Linked DNA regions of Homo sapiens: regions 1, 2, 4, 5 and 6 are each linked to region 3. The links are contacts of gene promoters, found by promoter capture Hi-C in blood cells and fetal thymus (Javierre and others, 2016). All regions are on one chromosome and are shown on one strand. Each heading gives the region's core, a stretch centred on a gene start or on the middle of the fragment in contact. The rest is flanking DNA. Distances are from core to core; before and after follow the strand shown.

Evidence for each region. Contacts are between HindIII fragments. The CHiCAGO score rates a contact against its expected background, and 5 or more counts as called.
Region 1: a contact is called between a fragment that was not itself captured here and the fragment with the promoter of PDCD10 in region 3, in 1 of 17 cell types (activated CD4 T cells). The highest score is 5.9, in activated CD4 T cells.
Region 2: a contact is called between a fragment that was not itself captured here and the fragment with the promoter of PDCD10 in region 3, in 1 of 17 cell types (naive CD8 T cells). The highest score is 5.8, in naive CD8 T cells.
Region 4: a contact is called between a fragment that was not itself captured here and the fragment with the promoter of PDCD10 in region 3, in 9 of 17 cell types (naive CD8 T cells, non-activated CD4 T cells, total CD4 T cells and 6 more). The highest score is 26.5, in naive CD8 T cells.
Region 5: a contact is called between a fragment that was not itself captured here and the fragment with the promoter of PDCD10 in region 3, in 2 of 17 cell types (total CD8 T cells and total CD4 T cells). The highest score is 8.1, in total CD8 T cells.
Region 6: a fragment that was not itself captured here is called in contact with the fragment with the promoter of PDCD10 in region 3 in 1 of 17 cell types (fetal thymus); the score reaches 6.0 in fetal thymus.

The regions. Positions count from the first base shown.
Region 1 is chr3:169,803,675-169,806,374 of GRCh38, reverse strand. LRRC34 (leucine rich repeat containing 34) reads left to right here. Exons shown (of 11, transcript NM_001172779.2): 6 at 2,194-2,322. Among named protein-coding and RNA genes, the nearest start is that of LRRIQ4, 7.8 kb to the left of the region's middle. RefSeq lists a cis regulatory region at 147 and an enhancer at 75-219. The HindIII fragment of the contact is 6,759 bases long and covers 1-2,700 here.
Region 2 is chr3:169,824,854-169,827,553 of GRCh38, reverse strand. The region is part of intron 2 of LRRIQ4 (leucine rich repeats and IQ motif containing 4); the gene reads right to left. Among named protein-coding and RNA genes, the nearest start is that of LRRC34, 13 kb to the right of the region's middle. The HindIII fragment of the contact is 924 bases long and covers 920-1,843 here.
Region 3 is chr3:167,733,333-167,736,146 of GRCh38, reverse strand. It overlaps PDCD10 (programmed cell death 10), which reads left to right and starts at 1,255. Exons shown (of 9, transcript NM_007217.4): 1 at 1,255-1,485; 2 at 1,797-1,933. It overlaps SERPINI1 (serpin family I member 1), which reads right to left and starts at 426. Exons shown (of 9, transcript NM_001122752.2): 1 at 324-426. RefSeq lists an enhancer at 1,004-1,443 and a silencer at 1,494-1,623. The HindIII fragment of the contact is 6,113 bases long and covers 151-2,814 here.
Region 4 is chr3:169,764,355-169,767,054 of GRCh38, reverse strand. ACTRT3 (actin related protein T3) reads left to right here. Exons shown (of 2, transcript NM_032487.5): 2 at 1-134. It also overlaps TERC. Among named protein-coding and RNA genes, the nearest start is that of ACTRT3, 3.9 kb to the left of the region's middle. RefSeq lists promoters at 1,559-2,063, 1,197-2,063, a silencer at 2,055-2,314 and enhancers at 1,827-2,366, 2,525-2,614. The HindIII fragment of the contact is 3,023 bases long and covers 1-2,700 here.
Region 5 is chr3:169,786,099-169,788,798 of GRCh38, reverse strand. MYNN (myoneurin) reads right to left here. Exons shown (of 8, transcript NM_018657.5): 8 at 1-2,383. The coding sequence ends at 2,121. Among named protein-coding and RNA genes, the nearest start is that of MYNN, 14 kb to the right of the region's middle. The HindIII fragment of the contact is 8,036 bases long and covers 1-2,700 here.
Region 6 is chr3:169,745,275-169,747,974 of GRCh38, reverse strand. No RefSeq gene overlaps it. Among named protein-coding and RNA genes, the nearest start is that of ACTRT3, 23 kb to the left of the region's middle. The HindIII fragment of the contact is 358 bases long and covers 1,200-1,557 here.

The DNA of each region.
Region 1 (2,700 bases), core at 97-2,596, 2.1 Mb before region 3:
GGCTTAATGTTTTCAAGGTTCATCTTGAAAACCCAGTCACAAAGATTTATGTTTTTTTAAGAGTTTTACAGTTTTAGCTCTTTCTTTGATCCATTTTAATTTTTGAATATGGTATGAGGTAGGAATCCAACTTTATTCTTTTGCATGTGTATATCCACGTGTCCTAACACCATTTGTTAAAAGACTATTCTTTCTCCCATTGAACTGTCTTGACAGTTTTGTCCAAAAATCAGCTAACCATCATTACAGGAGTTTATTTCTGTACTCTCAATTCTATTCTTTTAATCTGTATGTCTATCCTTATGCCAGTACCACACTATCTTGATTACTATAGCTTTGTAGTAGGTTTTAAAATCAAGAAATGTGTCCTTGTTCTTTTTTCAGGATTGTGTTGGCTCTTCTGTGTCCCTTGCATTTCCATATGAATTTTAGGTCAGTTAATCAATTTCTGCAAGAAAAGCAGCTGGGAGTTTTTTTTTTTTTTTTTTTTGAGATGGAGTTTTGCTCTTGTTGCCCAGGCTGGAGTGCAATGGCGCGATTTTGGCTCACCACAACCTCCACCTCCTAGGTTCAAGCAATTCTCCTGCCTCAGCCTCCCAAGTAGCTGGGATTATAGGCATGCACCACCATGCCTGGCTAATTTTGTACTTTTAGTAGAGACAGGGTTTCTCCACGCTGGTCAGGCTAGTCTCAAACTCCCGACCTCAGATTATCTGCCCACCTCGGCCTCCCAAAGTGCTGGGATTACAGGCATGAGCCACTTCACCCGGCCAGCAGCTGGGATTTTAATAGGAATTACAGTAAATCTGTAGATCACCTTGGGGAGTATTGCCATCTTAAGTCTTCCAAACCTCGAACATAAGATGTTTCATTTATTTAAGGCCTTTCATTTCTTTCAGCAATGCTCTGTAGTTTTCAATGTGCAAATCTTACATTTCTTTTGTTAAATTTATTCCTAACTTTTTTTTATGCTATTGTAAGTGGAACTGTTGTTCTTAATTTCATTTTTAGGTTGTTCATTGTTAGCATATGGAAATACAGCTGTTTTTGTATATTGATCTTGTGTCCTGCTATGTTGCTGAACTCTTGTGTTAGTTCTAACAGGTTTTTTTGGTGGAATCCTTAGGATTTTCCCTATGCAAGATGGTGTCACATACAGAGTTTCACTTCATTTCCAATTTGTATGGTTTTTCTTTTTGTTTTTCTTGGCTAATTTCTCTGGCTAGAACCTCCAGTACAATGTTAAATAGAAGTGGTGAGAGGACATCCTTTTCTTCTTCCTGATCTCAGAGGGGTTTGAATCGTGATAATTATTTACACTATTATATGTCCTAATAGTTACTCATTAGAATGATGAAATGTCTGTGATTTTGTGAAATATTTATCAAATTATATTACTTTAAAAGTGATATAGGAGGAATGGGGAGTGACTGGTTAATGGTATAGGACCGGCTTCGGGGATGATGAAAATGTTTTGGAACTAGCTACAGGTGATGACTGTGCAATATTGTGAATGTACTAAATGCTACTGAATTGTATACTTTAAAATGGTCAGTTTTATGTTATGTGAATTTCACCTCAATTTAAAAAAGTGAAGTGCTATAATTTTCTTAAGATAAATTTACAGATTTTTCCAGTGAAAGTTTATTAATATATGTTTTATTTACTGGTTATTGCTTGGGCATCTGTTTCTTGGGCATTCTTTCTACTCAACTGTTAAACTAGATTTTTATCTATTATGGTAGATTGAATGTTACCTTTAAGGTATATATCCTCTTCTGGCTGGGCGCGGTGGCTCATGCCTGTAATCCCAGCACTTTGGGAGGCCGAGCTGGGCAGATCACGAGGTCAGATCGAGACCATCCTGGCTAACATGGTGAAACCCCATGTCTACCAAAAATACAGAAAAAAATTAGCCAGGCGTGGTGGTGGGTGCCTATAGTCCCAGCTACTTGGGAGGCTGAGGCAGGAGAATGCTGTGAACCCAGGAGGTGGAGTTTGCATTGAGTCGAGATCACACCACTGCACTCCAGCCTGGGCGACAGAGCGAGACTCTGTCTCAAAAAAAATATATATCGTGTTCTAGCTCCATGAAAATTGGAGTCTGCAAATAGTAATACAGTCTCCTAATTCATGTAATATATAGAATTCTGTGGATTAACAATTATTAAATAAGTTTTTTTTCCTTTTCAGAAGAATCGGACTCTGAAATACCTAAGAATGACTGGAAACAAAATTGAAAATAAAGGTGGAATGTTTTTTGCTGCAATGCTGCAAATTAATTCATCATTAGAGAAATTAGATCTGGGTGACTGTGATCTGGTGAGTAAACTGGTTATGAGAAAATCATCCAGATAGTGGGTCATTAGAGAACAGCTAAATCAGAGTCTTATGAATGATTAATTTTGCCTCTTATGTCTAATATCAGAGAAAAGGTGTTTTTCCCCTAGACATAATAGTGCAGATTATTAATAAAATCAGACTATAGTAAATAACATAGAAAAATACTTAATAAAAATATTCCTAAACTTCCATCTATATAACTCATCTTAAACTGTATGGAATTTTTAGAAAAAGATCATGTTCACTTTAATTAAACAAATATTACTTTATTCATATAATTTTTTACTTTTGAAAATACATTTTAGGCTGCAGTGGCTCACGCCTATAATCCCAGCACTTTGGGAGGCTGAGGCAGGT
Region 2 (2,700 bases), core at 132-2,631, 2.1 Mb before region 3:
CTCACTGCAAGCTCCGCTTCCCGGGTTCACGCCATTCTCCTGCCTCAGCCTCCCGAGTAGCTGGGACTACAGGCGCCCACCACCACGCCCGGCTAATTTTTTGTATTTTTAGTAGAGACGGGGTTTCACCATGTCAGCCAGGATGGTCTCGATCTCCTGACCTCGTGGTCCGCCCGCCTAGGCCTCCCAAAGTGCTGAGATTACAGGCATGAGCCACCGCACCCGGCGAAAAAATCTCATTCTTAAAATATGTGACAATCACCCTATTGACTGTGTTACAGAGATGCCTTATTTTCTCGTAGAAAAAAATCCCAGCTATATAGCTCAACAGCTCCTTAACTCATATGTTCCTTTATCTGGCTTAATTCCTAACTGGGAAATCCTTCCCCACAGTTCCCTGCTTGAGCCCATGGGCATTCTTCCCATCCATTCCCTAGTCAGCCACCCTACTTTCATTCTGGCTAGAGCTCAGCTGAGCCACTCCCACCCCCACCTCTCTATGGATGGGTGGAATAGACAGGTAATTGGTGAATGGGTCACTTACAGTTGGAGAAAAAGAAAGTTCACTGAGGACAACCTATCTGTAAAAGTTTCACATACTTGGAATCTTCCATAATGCATTTTTCTCTTTTTTGTGTAGAGTAAGGACTCATTTTCCTAAAAATGCTGTAACAGTTTTCCAGTTTTATTTATTTACCTATTTATTTTAATTAGATGAAGTCAATCTTTGGAGAAACTGATGTTTAAGCTTTCCTCTTTGGCTATTTCAAAATTCTTCATCAAGCACTTAGATGTCTTCAATACAAAATGCCTGCATTCTGTGCAGTCCAAAACAATGAAAAAAGATTTTTCAATCTAACCATTTTATTATAACCTAGAAATTTCATTCTTATTGCTGTTCACTTAACTCATAAAAGCTTAGCTTTTCTTTTTCAAAGCACATTGAATGTTCAAAAATTTTTTTTAGGAGTATTTAAGATCCAGTAGTTAGTTTCATCATAGTCATAGTAAAGTATAATGAGAAGAAATCTAGATGTATAGAAAATCTGTAGAGCATTAGATGAGGACAATTACTGATGACACTGTAACTGACATATAGCCATTTTGGGATCTGGTACATTGTTTTGGTTTTTTCCTTTTTCTTTTTCTTTTTTTTTTTTTGAGGCGGAGTTTCACTCTTCTTGCCTCGGCTGGACGGCAATGGTACAATCTTGGCTCATTGCAACCTCTGCCTCCTGGGTTCAAGCGATTCTCCTGCCTCAACCTCCCGAGTAGCTGGGATTACAGGTGCCCACTACCATGCCCGGCTAATTTTTGTATTTTTAGTAGAGATGGGGTTTCGCCACGTTGGCCAGGCTGGTCTCAAACTCCTGACCTCAGTTGATCCACTCGCCTCATCCTCCCAAAGTGTTGTGATTACAGGCGTGAGTCACCGCACGTGGCCTGCTTTTCTCCTTTAATAGAAGTATACTCTACAAATAAAATCCATCTAGGTACACATTGAAAATCAGATATTTTTTGCATGCACACAGGCAAGTAGAAGCTACTGGTTAGGCTTTAAGAGCTAGTAACCCATGAGTTGAGTCTTTGGGGAGGGAGAGATAATGAGCTGGCTTAAAGGCCATGTTTCATTGAGGAGAGAAATGCATTGGAAGGTGGTATTAGCATAAGAGGAAATTGAGAAGGGAGGACAAATGCACACACACACACAAAACCCATCAGAATAACTGAAGAGGAAAAAGCACTGGTACACAGAGATTGTCATGTTCAATACAATAATATTTAACATGTCTACATTTCAGTGCAGTTTGACTTGTGCTAAAACTTGGTATTGGATGAAGCTTATTTTTGTTAACAAGCAGTCTGTGTGTGATTTGCTCCTTTGATTTCTTAAAATTTCTCTCAGAAAAGGATTAGGTATTATTCATGGCTCAGTATAATGTGTTATCCCTCCCACATGTACTTTATATTTTAAGTCTTTCACTCCAACTGCAGAATGACTGACTTAGTCCACTAAAAGGAATTTCTTACATCAGCAGTGGAATAGTTCAGGGCCGGGCTCTCACGGAACCTCAAAAATCCTCCAAGGTGAGTTGCTACATCAGTGGAGATTAAGTCCTAGAATCTCGACCTAAATCTACAAGTTACCATCAAAATGTTTACTTCCTGAAAGGCAGCTTTAAAACCCCATAGCAATTTGGGGAAAAAAGTTCTAGAAATAAAAAATCAAATAAAAGATTTTTTTAGCAGCCGGGCACAGTGGCTCACGCCTGTAATCCCAGCACTTTGGGAGGCTGAGGTGGGCAGATCATGAGGTCAGGAGTTTGAGACCAGCCTGGCCAATATGGTGAAACCCTGCCTCTACTAAAAATACATAAATTAGCCGGGCGTGGTGGCAGGCACCTATAGTCCCAGCTACTCGGGAGGCTGAGGAAGGAGAATCGCTTGAACCTGGGAGGTGGAGGTTGCAGTGAGCTGAGATGGCGCCATTGTACTCCAGCCTGGGCAACAGAGCGAGAGCTCATCTCAAAAAAAAAAAAAAAAAGATTTTTAAAAATAAATCCGTAAGGCCCAGGACTTTTATAATTTATAGGGAACACATGAGACTGGTGTCCATGGCCAGGTAAAGCAGACCTATTATTTGATTATAGTTGTTGATTTCCAAATTCCCCTTTTTACTCCCTCTACAGTTGTCTTTTG
Region 3 (2,814 bases), core at 6-2,505:
AGGCTACGCACCTATAACATCCACCAGATAACATCCACCTCGTCCTCAATTAGCAGGATTTTTCTCAATCTTCAGATCTCCCAGAACAGTTTTACTGGTGCAACTCAAACCAAAAACACTAACCACGCCCTTTATACCCAGAGTCAAGCTTCCTTTTGCTTTTTTGCCCTTAAAGTCGAAAAATGTAAATCTTTCACCCGAGAGGTTTTGCACCGGTTTCCTAACCCAACGCGGACTCTTTTAGCTGTGTCTTGATGTAATTCCTATTGGAAGACGTTTTCTCCAGGGCAGTGCAGACGCCCCGAAGAAGGACCCACGCTTACCTCCCACACACCTGCAACCCCTGACGGGATGCTGGAGCTTGTGCTCGGCGGACTGTGCTCCGCTCCGCTCTCGTTCCTGCTTTCGTCTCTCCCGGGAAACTACAGTCCAGACTGCGCCTCTGGCTTCTACAGGGACCCAAGCTCCGCCTCTCCCTCCTCTAGTTGGCGAATTTGGCAGCTGTTGCTCCTCCCCCTGCTGTTTCTGCAGCTGCCCGGACCGGAGGCAGCGGAAAGCAGCTGCCCTGGTACCTTTCCGCTCCCTGCACTTCTGCAGCTGCTCTGCCACTTCCACTCCCGTGGGGGTCCCTCTCCCCTCCTCTGTGGCTCACACCTGGAGCGGCCTCCTGCCCCACCCAGGCGTCTCTGCTGGGAGCCCCGGCTCAGCCTATCCTTCCCCGACCTGTGTGTCCGGATGCCCGGTGTGCCTGGGGCTTAGCTGCTCTCAGGGAAGCTGCCCCTCTGCCCAGTGCAAGTCCCCACACCAAGCCCTCCCTTCACCTGGGCGATTTCCCCGAGGCTTCCTCTCCACCCACACGGCATACTCAGCCCGACAGCCCCAGGATCCCCACCACAGGCCCCTCACCCCCTTCCTTCCTCTGCTCTGTCAGCCCGCCCCCTCAATGGGTGAGGCGCCTGCGGGGCCTACTCCGCACCCTGATTGGCGCAGGTGAGGGCTTGCCCCGCCCTTCCTCTCCTTTCCGTGCACCATCTCTCTTCATCTCACCTCCTCCCGCAAAGGCAGGGAATTCTCCTACTATTGGCTAGAAGTGTCACCACCCATCGCCTCAGGATCCCCCGCATGGCCTGCCGGGAAGTGTAGTCTTCCGATTGCAGGAATTGCGGACAACGCCGGCGAGCGGGACTACGAGTCCCCATAAGCCTCTGCACGACTCCGGCTGGGCAGGATTCCGGACAACGCCTGGTTCCTCTTGGGTCCTTCCGGCGTCGCCGGAGTGAATTGATCCGGGAGTTGAAGAGGGCTGCAAGGTGGGAAGTGAAGTCAGTGCCTCAGTTGCTGGTAAGGTGTAGCTGTTCTGTCCCAGTCCCCGTAGCTCTGCACCGAGCAGAAGAGGTCTAGGGTCACGCAGGGGCCATGGCTGAGGCACTTGGGCTTGGTTCTGGCAGGCGGAGCGGACGGGGCTGAGAGCGGGGCCCTACGGGCGTAAGCGAGGTTACCCTACGCGAGTGGCGTAAAGCGGGTTTGTAAATGCCGCCTGCCGGCTTGGGCCCGAACGCCTCCAGGAAGTCTCCTCTAGGTGGGGGCGGGAGGGGAAGGGCGAGGTTGGCCCCTGGTGCCCCGGGAGAGGGGACAGGGCGGATGTGCCTGGGGTGGGGTCCTTTGAAGGTGTGGCTTCGGACCGAGAGGTGAGGCTGCTGTTTTCCCCCTGCTTTGTAAGTAAGAGAAAAGGGAGGAGGAAGGAAAGGGTGCTTGGGAGTCGGCTCTTGGGGGTGACTCGGGTTATGCCCTTTGAGGGAAGAGGAGCACTGGAAGAAGGAAGAGACAAATGTTGGGGTCTACGGATTCAGTTCCAGTTTAATGATGTGGCCCTCTAAGGAGATAATTTTGCCTTAAACAGAAAGACTTGACCCTCTTAGGTGTCATACCTAAGGTATGTTTTTACTCCTTTACTGCTTTCAGAGCGCTTTCATTTTGGGATGCTGATGAGGAAACCGAGGGATTATATGACGTGCCCAAGGTCACACACGTAGGGACAGACTTTCTGAATCTAGTTCGGTTCGAGTCCAGCTTTAGAGTAGGGACGTTGGTTGTGCTTTTTGAAAAGGGTGGAGGAAGTTACAAAGTAAATGTATTTTATATAGTATATCTAAGAAGCCATTGTGAGATAAAAAGTTGTTTCTTGAACCGGAGTGAAATTCCTCAATAAAGGAAAGATCCTTTTGGAAAAAATAAAAATGGCCAGTTTCAACTTTTACAGATTTTTCCCCTTTTTTTAGGGGTGTATTAAATGATAGACTCTACTCTCACAGTTCATTTTTACGGGTAGGTAATAGGATGGGAGAACAACAGTTAAACAATATATCCCATCCTTAGAAGAATATTCTTTTCTTTTTCTACCTTAGGACTGTTTTTACTCTCATTTTGTAAAACTGATAATAGTGGGATTGGAATTCTTTCACAAAACTACACTTTTTTCAAATAATGTAGCGTTAGGAGAGTTTAGTGTGCCCATTACTAGAAAAGAAGGTATTTTGCATTTCTTGGAGGTAACATCGTCTTTTTTGAGACTTTACTTTTCCCCCATTTTCTTGACTCTGGGCTGTATTTGTGTGTGTGTCTGCAAATAATAAAATTGGGCTCTTGCATATTTTTATTTTTCTTAGCATCAACTGTGACTTTCAATTCATTCTTACTTTACATTGAAGAATGAAAAAACAGTACACGTATAGTTCATATCTTGCAGAAAGTAGTGCCTTTATGCAAGTCTTATCCTCTATAATGATTATGACCAGTTATAGCTCATGACTATTA
Region 4 (2,700 bases), core at 201-2,700, 2.0 Mb before region 3:
CCATCATGGAAGGGGTGGCATTGGGATGGAGCGCAGATATCCAGGCAAGCATACTAAAATGAACAAGTTGCTAAAGATGAGAATGAACAAAGCATATTCAGGGCATGTTTAATAGACTGATTTTGTTTTTAAAATTTTTGTTTATGTATGTATTTATTCATTTATTTAGTTTTAGAGGCAGAGTCTTGCCCTGTGTCCCAGGCTGGAGTGCAGTAGTGCAATCATAGCTCACTGCAGCCTCCAACTCCTGGGCTCTGCCCTCAGCCTCCCAAGTAACTGAATCCACAGGTATGCACCACCACGCCTAAGTTTAGACTGATTTTGTTCAAGTCAAGAGCTCATATAGAGCAGAACAAGCGCTATGACTAGCAAGGTTAAGTGAAGGCCAGGGACTGAAAGGCTTAAAGTGCTAAATATCCAATATGCAAAGGAGAGAAATTAAAGATTTAAAAGCAGGAGCCATAAGGAAACTATGTTATGATGAATGTGATAGTTTGGAGAATAAATTGAATGAGGAAGGCCCTGGAGATTTGGTGATCAGTTAGAAAGTTACTAGTCCACATATAAAGTGCCAAGTCTTGTACTCAAGATTATAAGCAATAGGAATTTAAAAAAAGAAATTATGAAAACTGACAAGATTTAGTGCCTACTTAGATATGAAGGGGAAAGAAGGGTTTGAGATAATGTGGGATGCTAAGAGAATGGTGGTAGTGTTGACATATAACTCAAAGCATTTAGCATCTACTCTATGTAAGGTACTGTGCTAAGTGCAATAGTGCTAAAAACAGGAGTCAGATTCTGTCCGTAAAAAACTTTACAACCTGGCAGATGCTATGAAAGAAAAAGGGGATGGGAGAGAGAGAAGGAGGGAGAGAGATGGAGAGGGAGATATTTTACTTTTCTTTCAGATCGAGGACCGACAGCGACAACTCCACGGAGTTTATCTAACTGAATACGAGTAAAACTTTTAAGATCATCCTGTCATTTATATGTAAAACTGCACTATACTGGCCATTATAAAAATTCGCGGCCGGGTGCGGTGGCTCATACCTGTAATCCCAGCACTTTGGGAGGCCGAAGCGGGTGGATCACTTGAGCCCTGGCGTTCGAGACCAGCCTGGGCAACATGGTGAAACCCCCGTCTCTACTAAAAACACAAAAACTAGCTGGGCGTGGTGGCAGGCGCCTGTAATCCCAGCTACTCAGGAGGCTGAGACACGAGAATCGCTTGAACCCGGGAGGCAGAGGTTGCAGTGAGCCGAGATCACGCCACTAGACTCCATCCAGCCTGGGCGAAAGAGCAAGACTCCGTCTCAAAAAAAAAAATCGTTACAATTTATGGTGGATTACTCCCCTCTTTTTACCTCATCAAGACACAGCACTACTTTAAAGCAAAGTCAATGATTGAAACGCCTTTCTTTCCTAATAAAAGGGAGATTCAGTCCTTAAGATTAATAATGTAGTAGTTACACTTGATTAAAGCCATCCTCTGCTCAAGGAGAGGCTGGAGAAGGCATTCTAAGGAGAAGGGGGCAGGGTAGGAACTCGGACGCATCCCACTGAGCCGAGACAAGATTCTGCTGTAGTCAGTGCTGCCTGGGAATCTATTTTCACAAAGTTCTCCAAAAAATGTGATGATCAAAACTAGGAATTAGTGTTCTGTGTCTTAGGCCCTAAAATCTTCCTGTGAATTCCATTTTTAAGGTAGTCGAGGTGAACCGCGTCTGGTCTGCAGAGGATAGAAAAAAGGCCCTCTGATACCTCAAGTTAGTTTCACCTTTAAAGAAGGTCGGAAGTAAAGACGCAAAGCCTTTCCCGGACGTGCGGAAGGGCAACGTCCTTCCTCATGGCCGGAAATGGAACTTTAATTTCCCGTTCCCCCCAACCAGCCCGCCCGAGAGAGTGACTCTCACGAGAGCCGCGAGAGTCAGCTTGGCCAATCCGTGCGGTCGGCGGCCGCTCCCTTTATAAGCCGACTCGCCCGGCAGCGCACCGGGTTGCGGAGGGTGGGCCTGGGAGGGGTGGTGGCCATTTTTTGTCTAACCCTAACTGAGAAGGGCGTAGGCGCCGTGCTTTTGCTCCCCGCGCGCTGTTTTTCTCGCTGACTTTCAGCGGGCGGAAAAGCCTCGGCCTGCCGCCTTCCACCGTTCATTCTAGAGCAAACAAAAAATGTCAGCTGCTGGCCCGTTCGCCCCTCCCGGGGACCTGCGGCGGGTCGCCTGCCCAGCCCCCGAACCCCGCCTGGAGGCCGCGGTCGGCCCGGGGCTTCTCCGGAGGCACCCACTGCCACCGCGAAGAGTTGGGCTCTGTCAGCCGCGGGTCTCTCGGGGGCGAGGGCGAGGTTCAGGCCTTTCAGGCCGCAGGAAGAGGAACGGAGCGAGTCCCCGCGCGCGGCGCGATTCCCTGAGCTGTGGGACGTGCACCCAGGACTCGGCTCACACATGCAGTTCGCTTTCCTGTTGGTGGGGGGAACGCCGATCGTGCGCATCCGTCACCCCTCGCCGGCAATGGGGGCTTGTGAACCCCCAAACCTGACTGACTGGGCCAGTGTGCTGCAAATTGGCAGGAGACGTGAAGGCACCTCCAAAGTCGGCCAAAATGAATGGGCAGTGAGCCGGGGTTGCCTGGAGCCGTTCCTGCGTGGGTTCTCCCGTCTTCCGCTTTTTGTTGCCTTTTATGGTTGTATTACAACTTAGTTCC
Region 5 (2,700 bases), core at 136-2,635, 2.1 Mb before region 3:
AGAAGAGCAGAAAATGATGACAACTCAAGCCATGTCAATTTAAATAAAATTACTTTAGCTAAGAAGCAGAAAATGTGATCAAGAAAAGCTCAATCAATCTTAGCCACTTCAATCGTATCAAATAATACTAAAAATAATAAATTTGAAGGCTAATCTATGCAAAGGCAGAATGCTAATAATACCAGAGGAAATTTGGCAACTATTGCCCTTATAGAATTATGACGTCACTGTAGCAGTTTTTTGTTCATTAGATGCTTGGATTAACGAAGATATAAATAAATTAAACATAACCTCTCCATTTTAGCAAACTTCCTAAAGAGGCTGAGTCTTTTAATTTTCTATAATTTCTTCACATTCCAATACATTCCTATCACATTTAACCCAGAAGAGATTAGGTAACATTCTAATGCTTTGTAAATTGTATTTAAACCCACTATTTTAACTTGATACACATGCATAGATTTCTTAGATAAAATAATCAAATATTGTTTGCATCATACAAAGGTGGTATTTCAAACTCTATTCAAATAAGTCAGTCCCATGTCCCACCAGTGGCAATTTATTATGAAAATAATGTGTGTGCTGTGAAATGGTGAAGATCTCTACAGACTACAAGCATTAAGTGTTTTTATTATGTCCTCTAATTGGTTCTTATGACTTGGGTCCCAAATAGAGAAAATTAATGAATTAAAGAAATCAATACCAATAAAAAACATATTAACTGTACTACAGGTGTAGTTTAAAAGCAGAACACAAAAAAGCCACAGCATGGCAGAAATAAGAAATGATGTCATCTCACACTGAACAACAGCCTTGTGGGGGGAAAAAAAAAGAAAAAGAATATCACCATGCTGTTTGATTGGCACTATAAAAATTGACTTTGTGGAACTCATAATTTCATATCCAAAGATCAGGCAGTGAAATAAATTAATATGTGGGAAAAGTGGCATGGGGATGAGTGGTGCAAATATCAGGATAATAACGAATTTTCTACATTCATTTGGAAGGAAAAGGACCATTGTGAAACTACAACCACCACCAAAAGTTGTGGTTTAATTTATAAAATTAACAAACCCCAAACTTATAGAAAACTCAGATATAAAATATTTAACTATAGTTGGCTTTCTGGTAACTCAAAATGTTTACTTATAATTGAGGTTAATTTCTTAACTCTTTATGCAATATAATGTACCAAATTTAGAAGCCAAGTGATTTCTAGTATGCATTAAGTTTATATCTAGAAAATTCTTTCTGGAATTCAGTATTTATTTTAAAAAGTGCATAACAGGAGTAAGAGAGGCTTACCAAAATATTTCAAAACTCAAGTACATTTTCCTCATCTCCAATATTTTAGAACGGAATAAAACATAAACTGAATCAAATTTTGAAACTGTCTTTGACAAGATAAAAACACCAAATATCTACTTAAAATTCATTTTGAAAATACAATCTCAGATAACTCAAACCAAAAGTGCTGACCATTGGTTTTCTCCAGAATACTCAGTTCTAAATGAACAAAAATTTATATGCACTTTTCTAGATTTTGAGAAACATTTTTGTTTCATTAGAAAAGTTATTTCTAACAATATATTAATAGAGAAATAGCACAATTCTTATTCAGCGCCTAAATTTTTACGAGCGAAAATATGAAATTTTATTTTTATGCATAGTTTATGTATTGATCCATGGGGCTTACAAATAGCAACACACTCTTGGGCTGATACTATCGTGGATTTTGCTTAAATTATGAGGGCAGGAAAATTTTAAAATCCCACAGGTCACAACTGAATCACATTAACTGGCTGATTTAGTAAATGAAGGGCAATTCTAAAATGCAAAATAAAAATGGAATTAAGGCAGCTTTAAAAGAAAATAAAACTCATCCACCCAAAATAGTGCTACATAATTCATTACTTAAAAAGCTCTCTGTGGAGTATAGACATAAAGCCAAAAATAAAAACAAACATTGCAGTTGTGATGCAGCATCAGGTGCTTTTACTTCAGTGAATGAAAAATAATGGTCACAACTCAAATGAATGGGAATTTAATATGAATATATGCACCTTACCAGAGATGTTTGCTACCAATGATATCTTAGCAATTCCATATTCCTTACAAAGTCAGTATAATTGTTGTAAAAAAATCAACTGTGGTTCTGAATACCCATTCACAGTTGACCTCAACAATGTATCTGATGTAGGAGACTGAGTATCCGTGACAGGCAGAAGCATGTGATGGTCCTCAGTCCCAAGTGGAAGAGCTAATGGTAAAGTCATATCAGAAGGCTTCACATCCATAGTTTCTGATAAAGGACTTTTTTGTATGGAATCCTGTTCACTCAAAGTATGATCCTCTGCACTGGAGTCTAGAGTTTTATCTGCACCTAGAATGGAAGGAAAAAAAAATCTACATTATCTTTAAAACAAAACTAAACCCCTGAGGTAGACTAATGTACTTACCATTCCCAGAAATTACATTCCAACCACCATACCTTTACTCAAGCGGTTTCTCTTTTGTACATATGCCCTCCTCACTATCTATGTAAATTCAATCTGGGCCTCAAGGTTAAGTTCAAGCACCAACTCCATTTAAAAAAATGGACTTGATTAAGAATGAAACAGGGTGAGCTGTTATATCGGCTTAATCACACATTTGTCAATTTTCATATACTGCCTTGTGGCATCTATCTCTCTTATTGCC
Region 6 (2,700 bases), core at 129-2,628, 2.0 Mb before region 3:
GGTGCACTTCCAGCATTATGCTAGGTGAAACAAACCAATCACACAAGGTCACATACTGGATGATTCAATTTACATGACATCTTCAAGATAACAACATTGTAGAGATGGAGAATAGCTTAGTGGCTGCCAGGGAATAGGGGTGGTGGAGGGAAGGGGGCTGTAACTGTGAAGGGGTAGCATGAGGGAGATGTTCGTGGTGATGAAATAGTTTTTTATCTTAATTGAATTCGTGGTTACGTAAATTGACTGGTGTGATCAAATGACAACTACACATGTGTTGTACCAGTGTCAATTGTCTCCTTTTGATATTGTGCTATAATTATGTAAGATGTCCCCTTTAGGGGAGATGAAGTGAAGGGTACATGGAACTTCTCTGTACTATGTTTCCAACTTCCTATGAATCTATAGTTATTTCAAAATAATAAGTTGAAAAAAGTAGCCTTATTGACTTTTCTCTCCCTCCTTACTCTGTCTTCCCCAGTCCATCTTGTCACTCCGTCAGACACCAGGTAATATGAGACTCTGTTCTTTCCTTCTTTTACCCCTATCCCCATCATCTAAGCAGTCTTGAAGTCCTGTCCATTTCATCCCTGTGTGGCATCTCTCCAGTCTGACTGCCCCTCCCCACCTTCTTTGCTCTGGGTCAGACCCCCTAGTCTGACCTTCTGCAATAGCTCCCTGCTGGTCTCCTATCTTTCACCTATCTTGTACAATGCTGGTGACCTCTTTAAAATAGAAATCATATCCTATTACTTCTCTGCCCAAGAACAGTTGGTTGTTCCTTGACACCTGTGGTTTCGAATCACCTCCTTGCTGCGGCGGACAAGAGACTTCATTCAGTTCCTGTTCTGCATTCCTCTTATAAGCAATAGATCTGGATGTACTGGAGGCTCATGTTCCCGTTTTTGGTAGATGAGTAGAAAGTTGGCTCAGCAAGTTAGAGTTAGCCCACTAGAACAGGTGGATGCCAGTTTCTGGGCTGCAGAGACCCGACCCTCCCTTTCTATCAAGCTACTTCTGTGACCACGGGACATCCAAGTGCATAGATGTTCCCTGTTCCCTACAGGATTGTAGGGCAGGGTCCCTTTCTACTGCACTGTTAGCCATGGACATGTGGCCCATCTACACAGGGCCGAAACTGTGGGATAATGAGAGTTCAGGGGATTGCGGACACTCTGCTCCTTCTCTGCTTGTAAGCTTTCCTTTTATCACCTTTATTTTTTACCTTCCCTATGTGACACTAGGCATATATGCCCAGGACACCTCTGCCTGACACTTCCTCACCAGACTCACCTGCTGATACTCAGTGAGCCTGTGGTATCCCATAATGATCTGTGGTTTTCAGAAAATGTCCCTTCTCTGCTAGATCATGTGCTATTTAGTTTTCGATTACTTACACCTTCCTGGATCCTGGCTGTGTCCCTCCAAGCAGAAACAGAGCTACTGTGTTTCATTTTACTTAGCGCCCCTTCATTCTTCTATCATGGGACATCTAACATTGTTTTAAAATCCAGCTGTGAGGTTTGCTTCCCTTTCACCTCCCCAGACTGTGAAGCTTTTTGAAAGATGGGATACCTTGTCTTTTAGCTTTGTATTCCTGAAGCTTGCGAGAACCTCGCACAGGGTTGGTATTTAGTACACATATGTTAAACGAGCAAATTTTGACATGCATGAGAGCATTTTATGAACAGTAAATGCTATACCAGCCTTAGTTATGATGACAATATCTTAATGAAGCCAGCAGAATAAATCATAATGGTTGGAACCGGAGCTGTCAATATAGCAAAATCAGTTACCAATTTTAAAAACATCAGCCCCTTGACACACACACAGATATACACACAGACACATCCTCCATAGTGCATAGTGTGTAGTCAGCTTTCATACTTGGCCTAATACACTGCAAAGATTAAAGGTCTTTTTCCCTTTTCTTCGCAGACATTCATGGTGGGGGCTTGTTCCTCACAATCCACACATTACGCTTCACATTCGCGTCATTCGAATACAAGATAGCTGTTACAGGACGTGGTGTGGTGCTTGGTGTGGTGGTTGACAGAGTTAAATAAATATTTTTTAGAGGGGAAAATACTTTTTTATGTGCAAAAACAACTGAATTTCGGCCACCAAATCATTTCCTCCAGCTCAACACCAGCCACCAGAATAAAGACAGGTCATTCCTCACATTGATTGATCTGAGGCTCAGAGCTCTGTCTCCCTTTCCTAGTGGGAGAGGTTGTGGGAGAAGTTGAACATGGCTGGGTTCTCTGACTCAGATGCATTGCTTTTATGGTAGCATTTTGCCCTAAAGGGGCTTTCTGTAAATTTGAGCTTAAGTATGTACTACTAGAGGCCTAAAGAAGGCTAAGTGGTAGCTACTCTATTTTTCAAAAGAATATTAATAGCTAAATGTAAAGTTAAAAACTGACTTTGGGCCGGGCGCGGTGGCTCACGCCTGTAATCCCAGCACTTTGGGAGGCCGAGGCGGGTGGATCATGAGGTCAGGAGATCGAGACCATCCTGGCTAACAAGGTGAAACCCCGTCTCTACTAAAAATACAAAAAAAATTATCCGGGCGCGGTGGCGGGCGCCTGTAGTCCCAGCTACTCGGGAGGCTGAGGCAGGAGAATGGCGTGAACCCGGGAAGCGGAGCTTGCAGTGAGCCGAGATTGCGCCACTGCAGTCCGCAGTCCCACCTGGGCG